3 separate regions of the Homo sapiens genome follow, and all the other regions are linked to region 1. The links are contacts of gene promoters, found by promoter capture Hi-C in blood cells and fetal thymus (Javierre and others, 2016). All regions are on one chromosome and are shown on one strand. The core of a region is centred on a gene start or on the middle of the fragment in contact, and the rest is flanking DNA. Distances in the headings are between cores, read along the strand shown.

What was found. Contacts are between HindIII fragments. The CHiCAGO score rates a contact against its expected background, and 5 or more counts as called.
Region 2: a fragment that was not itself captured here is called in contact with the fragment with the promoter of FAM178B in region 1 in 1 of 17 cell types (erythroblasts); the score reaches 5.3 in erythroblasts.
Region 3: a fragment that was not itself captured here is called in contact with the fragment with the promoter of FAM178B in region 1 in 1 of 17 cell types (naive CD8 T cells); the score reaches 5.2 in naive CD8 T cells.

What each region holds. Positions count from the first base shown.
Region 1 is chr2:96,985,326-96,987,838 of GRCh38, forward strand. FAM178B (family with sequence similarity 178 member B) reads right to left here and starts at 1,255. Exons shown (of 17, transcript NM_001122646.3): 1 at 916-1,255. The coding sequence starts at 988. RefSeq lists enhancers at 292-812, 813-1,333. The HindIII fragment of the contact is 31,542 bases long and covers 1-2,513 here.
Region 2 is chr2:96,575,430-96,577,942 of GRCh38, forward strand. No RefSeq gene overlaps it. Among named protein-coding and RNA genes, the nearest start is that of ARID5A, 40 kb to the left of the region's middle. The HindIII fragment of the contact is 2,624 bases long and covers 1-2,513 here.
Region 3 is chr2:96,610,065-96,612,577 of GRCh38, forward strand. It overlaps KANSL3 (KAT8 regulatory NSL complex subunit 3), which reads right to left. Exons shown (of 21, transcript NM_001115016.3): 8 at 2,398-2,499; 9 at 2,218-2,289; 10 at 1,000-1,074; 11 at 662-819. Among named protein-coding and RNA genes, the nearest start is that of KANSL3, 27 kb to the right of the region's middle. The HindIII fragment of the contact is 9,937 bases long and covers 1-2,513 here.

The sequences.
Region 1 (2,513 bases), core at 5-2,504:
CCATGCTCACTCTACAATGCAGCCCATGGATGGCGCCCCCTCTGCCCAGCACATCCCTCTGCCTGGGCTCTTGTCTCCCCGAATCCTGCAAACCCCAGCCCCAGCCTTTAGCGTTCAGCCGCCCTCCCCGCTTCCCTCATCCTCCCTCGCGTCCTCGCAGTGAGATTTCAACATGTCATCTCAGTTTTTTTGTTCTTTTACTTTCCTGACTACAAGAAAAATAAAATAATCTGTCTTAAAGTGTAGCATGAGGCCAAATAATTACGGAATCCCAAGTGCTTTGGGCCCTGATGTCAAAAGAGCCAAGATGAATTCAGAATATTACAATGGTGCTGTTTCTGCGAATACTGCTTTTTCAAGACGCCTTATTCCTAACATCATGTTTTATATCCATCCTTTTAAACAAATATTTAATAGCTTGGGAATGCTGGCGAGAGCAGCGGCTCCTGTCAGCAAGGACTGAGCTCACAATTTGAAAGATGAAAGGAGATGCGTTCTACCCACAAAGAAAACGGTCTCCAGCATCATAAACTCCACATCCATCAAACCGGGCAGGGGCTGGGAATAGAAAGCCTTTCTGGAAAGAAAACACCAGCTACCCTTTGCACCCTGGGGAACATTAAAAATCAAAACAAAACATGCCACATCAACCAAAACATAAACCAGTTCTCAAACCAATCTAAGGTTCCACCCCACCAAGGCCGGCCGCGCAGTGGCCTGTGGAGAGGAGGGCCCGGCTCACGTCGGAACCCGAACCACGCGGGGTCGCAGGAACCTGAAAAGCGCCAGAGTAGCCCGGCGGCCGCACCGGGGCTGACCTGCAAGGCCTGGACCAGCCAGGAGTCCCAGGGAAGTCGAGTGCTCTCTGAGCGCTAACCACGCGCCCCTGCGGTTCCTCGGCCTCAGTTTCCTTACCTGTAAAATGGAGCCGCTGATCCTGCCTCCTGAGTTGTGGAGCGAGGCCCGCACCTGGAAGCCTTGGCCACATAGGGCGGGAAGGGCAGGGCTCCGGGGTGAGGGAGGGTGGCGGGAATTCGCACGGCCTCAGAGGACGGGGCCAGCTAGCCGGGAAAGGAAGCAGGAGCAGGCTCCCCAGGCGGCGCAGTGGGAGGACCCCAAGAGTTGCGTCCCTAGATCCAGGGCCGCCAACGTGGAACCTAAAGATCCAGTTCTGGGGATTGAGTTCCGACTCCAAACCAAGCGGCCAGCTCACAGCCGCCGCCGCCGCCAGCTGGGGAGCTCGCCGGCCAAGTGCGCACCCTCTTCCTGTTAGCCCTCCACGTGCGCGCCCTCTTCCTGCTCGCCCTCCACGTGCGCATCCACGTGCGCGGGAATTGGCTGGCGGAAGCTCCTGCCCCCAGGCAGTCCTGGGTCACGCGCACTTGTAGTAGCTTGCATTTACCAAGACAGTGAGACAGTGGCCTGGCGCGGTGTCTCATGCCTATAATCCCAGCACTTTGGGAGGCTGAGACGGGACGATTGCTTGAGCCCAGGAGTGAGAGACCTGCCTGGGCGACATGGCGAAACCCCGTCTCTACTAAAAATACAAAAATTAGCCTGGCGTGGGCAGGGCGCGGTGGCTCACGCCTGTAATCCCAGCACTTTGGGAGGCCGAGGCGGGCGAATTGCCTGAGGTCAGGAGTTCCAGACCAGTCTGGCCAACATGGTGAAGCCCTGTCTCTACTAAAAATTAAAAAACATTAACCGGGCTTGGTGGCTGGCGTGCGCCTGTAATCCCAGTTGCGCGGGAGGCTGAGGCAGGGGAATTGCTTGAACCAGGGAGGTGGAGGTTGCAATGAGCCGAGATCGCGCCACCGCACTCCAGCCTGGGCAGCAGAGCAAGACGCCGTCTCAAAAAAAAAAAAAAAAAAAAAAAAAAAAAAAAAAAAAAAAAAAAAAAAAAGCCGGGCATAGTGGTGCAGTGCCTGTAGCCCCAACTACTTCAGAGGCTGAGGTGAGAGGATCACTTGAGCCTGGGAGGCGTAGGCAGAGGTTGCAGTGAGCCGAGATCGTGGCACTGTACTCCAGCCTGGCGAAAGAGCAAGCCCCCATCTCTAACACACACACACACACACACACACGTGTGAGATAGCTGTGTCTGTTTGGCAGTGATGAGCTTCCCTTTATGGGAGATTTACATAATTATTCATAAAGGAGCGGGAATGGGCATTACTGTTAAGCATGTTACGGGGTCTCCCAGATGTGCATGTGCGTGCTAGTACACCACATCACATGTCTCATTAGCATTTTAATTCCTCACCCAGGGGTGTGTTTTTTAGCATTAAAATGAGCATAGGTCATTCCAAGGACACTCTAATCATGGGTTTCTGCACTTGTGTGAATTTGGGGATTTTCCCTTCTGCTGTTCATCCTCTTCGCTGCAGGATGTTCTAACTAGGAGCCTGATGCAGTTTATGCACCAGTGGGCGGTTTGTTCTCTACATCAATCTGGCAAGTTCATTCCCCTTTAAAGGAGGCTATGACCACTGTATCTAACCGACCTCATTTTCCCC
Region 2 (2,513 bases), core at 11-2,510, 410 kb before region 1:
AAAGACAAGTTGCTGTACTTTGCATCACCTACAACTAAAAAATAAAGAAAATCCTTGGTGGATCCTTCTTGGCATTTGGAGGCAATGCATACCAAACTTGAGTGTGTTATTTCAACCCATTTACTGAGTAATCAATTTTGAGCAGAGACTAAAGCAATCTCTTGCTCTGCATCAAGCCCAGGCTGAAGAACAAGCCTTATGACCCCACAGATCCAATGCTAGTAAAAGTGCCTGTGACAAACAGGCTGGTCTGTGGAGCCTGTGACAAGCATTAATAGGACAATCACAGTACAGAACTCTGGAGTGTGGAGGCAAATCCATGCCCTCTTCTCCAAGTAACTAATATCTGTTTGAAAAAGATTCTGCTTTTCTACTGGCCCTTAGTAAAGAATAAACACTGAACCATGAGATATCAAGTAACCTTGTGACCTGAGCTTTCCATCATGAATTTATAGTTATTGACACACCTAGCCACAGATTAGACCTGTGCAGCAAAAATAGAAAAGGCTGGACTCAAGCAGGTCCAGAGGACAGAAGTAAGTCAGACTCCTTCGACACTGACTCTGGCTGCATTGCCTCCTCCCCCTCAATCCTCATCTATGCCTGCTGGGAGTTCCTTATGACTAGGTAGCTGAGAAGGAAATAATCTGGGCTTGATTTGCAGGCAGTTCTCTATATGTTGGAACCAACAGAAAGTGGATGGCAATATTACAATCTCACTTGGGTGTCTCTGAAGGACAGTGATAAACAGAAGACTTCCTATTCAGCAGAACTTGGAGCTGTTTGGTTATCCACTTTGTTTGAACTGAGAGATGACCAGAAGTACAGATCTGCTGACTAAAGGAAGATTTCTAATTAATGACTGGATGGTTATGGAGGGACAAGGGTTGGAACATTGGTGATGAGATCTGGGGAAATTATATAGATAAACTTCTCAAACTGGGCACAAAGGGGAACAGATATTTGGGTCCCAAATATCTGATGTGGATACTCACTGGAAGGCATGCATTACAGAGGCTTGCAACAATGGGCTTGTGGTTCATGAAACTCATTGGTCTTACCAGAGATCCCATCGTGAAGAGGTCAGTCTGAACAGTGGGATGGCCTACTAGATAATTACCTAGGGCACCAGATGGGAGTCAACACCCTGAAAGAATAGGGTTTTATCTTATAGGATGCAATATATCCTTCAAATCAAAGACCTATTCATAGTGCTGTCTCTTCATGGGCCCAGGAAGCAAGAACAGAAAAGAAAGCAGGTCTTCCCACTAGCACACATAATGACCAGTCACTTCTCATCTCCACAATTTTGAGCTCTGCTTGCTTGGAAGGTCTTGGTTCCCAAGGGAGGACTATTTCCACCAGGGACCCAACAATGGCTCCATCAAACTGGAAGCTGAGACTGCCTCCATTTAGACATTTTTGGGTGCCTCATGACATTAAATCAAAAAAGAGCAGTGACTTTGCGGGCTGAAGTGACTGACCCCAATTATCAAGGGAAAATTGGGGTTATTACCACACGATCGTGGCAGAGGACTAGGTCTGGAACCCAGGGGATTTTCTGGGGCTCCAATGAACACTTCTAGCAAAAGTTAGTGCTGGCTTCTCCCCCTGCCACATGCACGAATATTTTCCCTTTTGGCTGTGCATTATTTAGTGGCTTTAGGACTAAACTGCTTAGGAAGAGAGGGAAAAAGACAAACCTACAGATTTGAAATTATTGTCCCTTGTTCCAGTTTTCCCTCTCCTTTGCATCTTTTGCTGCTCACCCTTCCCTGTTCTAACTCTCCACTTTTTTTCCATAGGGACCATCTGGTCTAGAATGACTGCTGACCTAATCTGGAATCAATCTCATTTGGTGCTGGGCATGATCCACATAAGAAGAGTCCCACTCCCCACTGCCTTGGTCTGCTTCTCCACTCTCGGAGAGGGCTCACCATGAGAAGCCCTGGCTTAGATCCTCCAGGACAGGTGCTCTCTAGGGAAGTCTGAACACATGGACCAAGAACCAAGTGGTCAAGCCTGGTTTCCACCTTCCTCAGTAATCACTTTAAGCCTGACAAGTTATGGGAAAATGGGATGCCCAGCATTGCCAGAGCCTACGACACCCATGTAGGAGCCATCTACCCATCCAATTAGCCAGACTGTCAATTCAACATGACATACAATTCTTCCTCAAAACCAGATTTGGTACAGATACTCCCTCTTCCTTGCCTGTTACCACCCATATTTGGCACCTCCCACGTGGTCTCTGGGCACTGTGAGCAAGCACAGTGTGTGCTTTTACAGGCCATTTAGATAAGAGGTTTGCAACCAATCAACCCTTTACCTATCATGGATAGGCCATGAGCTACTATTCAGTTTCCGAGCACAGCAGGCTTACCCACCACAACCCTGAGAGCCAAGTCATTGCGATTAGAGATTGCTTGAGAGTGGGCTTTGCAGTGGACTGCCAGAATTCGGCTATGGTTCTGCCACTTACCAGCTGTGTGATTTGGGCAAGTTACTTAACC
Region 3 (2,513 bases), core at 5-2,504, 380 kb before region 1:
ATCCTGGGCTGGATGCTGGACCAGAAAAATGACATTAGGGAAACAACTGATGAAACATGAGTCTGTAAATTACAGTATCATGTAGATGTTAATTTCTTGATTTTGAGAATTACACTTTGGCTATGTAAGATGTTTAACATTTAGAAAATCAGGTGAAGGGTATATAGGAATTGTTTTGTACTAGTGTTATAACTTTTTATAAATCTGAAATTTCAAATATTAAAAAAGGTTTTTTTAATGCTGTCTTTTTTTAATTTTTTTTTTTTTTTGAGACAGAGTCTTGCTCTGTCACCCAGGCTGGAGTGCAGTGGCGGGATCTCGGCTCACTGCAAGCTCCGCCTTCTGGGTTCACACCATTCTCCTGCCTCAGCCTCCCGAGTAGCTGGGACTACAGGCGCCCGACACCAGGCCTGGCTAATTTTTTGTATTTTTAGTAGAGACGGGGTTTCACCGTGTTAGCCAGGATGGTCTCAATCTCCTGACCTCGTGATCCGCCTGCCTCAGCCTCCCAAAGTCCTGGGATTACAGGCGTGAGCCACCGCGCCCGGCTAATGCTGTCTTTTAACTGAACCAGACTGGTCTGTAGTTACATTGCCAGCTTCCAGGCTTATCTCTAACACTGTAACACAGCTCTCTTGCAGCTCTGGGAGAATCCACCCACCTGAGATTGTCATCAGCTCCCCCAACCACCACCAAGCTGTTCTCAGCTCGAATCTTCTCCCGGAAGTCCTCCATGGCTTCAGGGTGACATTGAAGGGAATTCTGACCAATGACAAAGAGGACTGGAGTCTTCATATCCAAGAGGGGATCATCTACATCCTAAAACAGGTATAGGTTTTAGAATCGGCTTCTTCATATTCACAAAGCACTGACCCAGAAACTCCACTAAGGAGGATCAGCCATGCAACTGCAGTCAGCCTCAGCATCAGCTTGGACAAGGCATGCACACTCGCGCTCCCACTGCCAATGACCCAGCACTCAGCTTTACCACATTCTTACCCCTCTGGGGCCATCCACAGTAAGCAGAGGAAACCCAAGGCAGACAACTGCAGTGACATACTCCATTACTGACACCTGTAAATAACAGAACAGTTTGTCTAAACGTCAACTGAGTTCATGGCACCTCAGCCTACCCAGAATCCAGGAGTGGTCCAGACCCACCAGACAGTCTCACCTCTTCCTCTCCTGTCCTAATATCCGGGTGCATCTTCTGCCACAATGGCAGCAGTAAGAGCACAAGACACAAGGTATGTCATTCCATAAGCAGCCACTACCTAGAGAACTGGGGCCCTAAGAGGACCCCAGCAGGTGGCTGAACCATAGGATAGAAGGTTCAGTATTCCTACCCTGTCAACCCCCTCAACTAGAGCCCTCCTGCTCCATTTTTCTCCACAAATAGTAAATATAGTCAAGAGAACACAATGTTGCCATTAACCCTTAAGTGAAAAAAAATTCTCTCTATTGAACTTAATGGATAGCTACCAGACAGCCTAGATTTCTTGGAGCAAACTGCTAAGGCCTAACACCCTGGGAGCAGGGACTATGGGGACCTTCTTCCTCTCATAGCTATCACACTTGATTGGACTGCATGAAGCAAAATTAAGGGTTTGGACATGAGGGACACTTACACAAACTGACAGACATACAAATATATGTAAAATACGAAAAGATTCCTTGATGTCTTGGAAAAAGACTGAAATGAACACAGCATCAAATTCCAGAGCTATTAATATTTGCCAGCTACAATTACTGTTGTTTTTTAGGTGGGAGAACAGTATGGTACTTATGTTTAGAGAAAAAAAGGGATCTTTTTTTTTTTTCCACAGATATATACCCATATGTGTGTGTGTGTGTGTGTGTGTGTGTGTGTGTGTATGTGAAAATGCTATTATATTTGGGATTTTCTTCAAAACAATCTAGGGGAGAAAGAAAATGAGCAGGGTGAGATGAAACAAGCCCAGCCAAGAGTTGATCACTGGTAAAGCTGGGTGAGGATCCGGGGGTTTATTATACTACACCTGCTTTTGTTTCTGCTTAAAGTTTTCCAAAATAAATTAAAAATTGTTTTAATAAAATTTGTCTTCTACAGTTTAAAATGTAATTATATAGGTAAAGTATCTAGCGCAGAGCCTGACACACAGTAAAGGACTCAATGGTAGCTATGATTAGTGGTATTCCATCCCAGGACAACCTCCAAATAAGATAGAAATTACTTACATGACAGGCCACCAAAGCTCCTGTGTTCCAGCCAATCAAGATAATGGGTTTGTGTGGGAAATGGCTGTGAATCTTCATGGGAAGAGAAAGAAGACAGTAAGACAGGAGGCCAAAGATAGGTGCAGAACAACCCCAGAATGCTGGGTATGCCACAATGTACTGAAATACGGGCATTCTCACCTCCAGCACTTTGCTTCTCACTGCCCCAATCATATGCTCGAGACACTGTAGAACTCCTACCCCACTGCCATTGTTCAGCAGATGGGTGGCTACAGGGATGACCTGAAGGAAAGAAG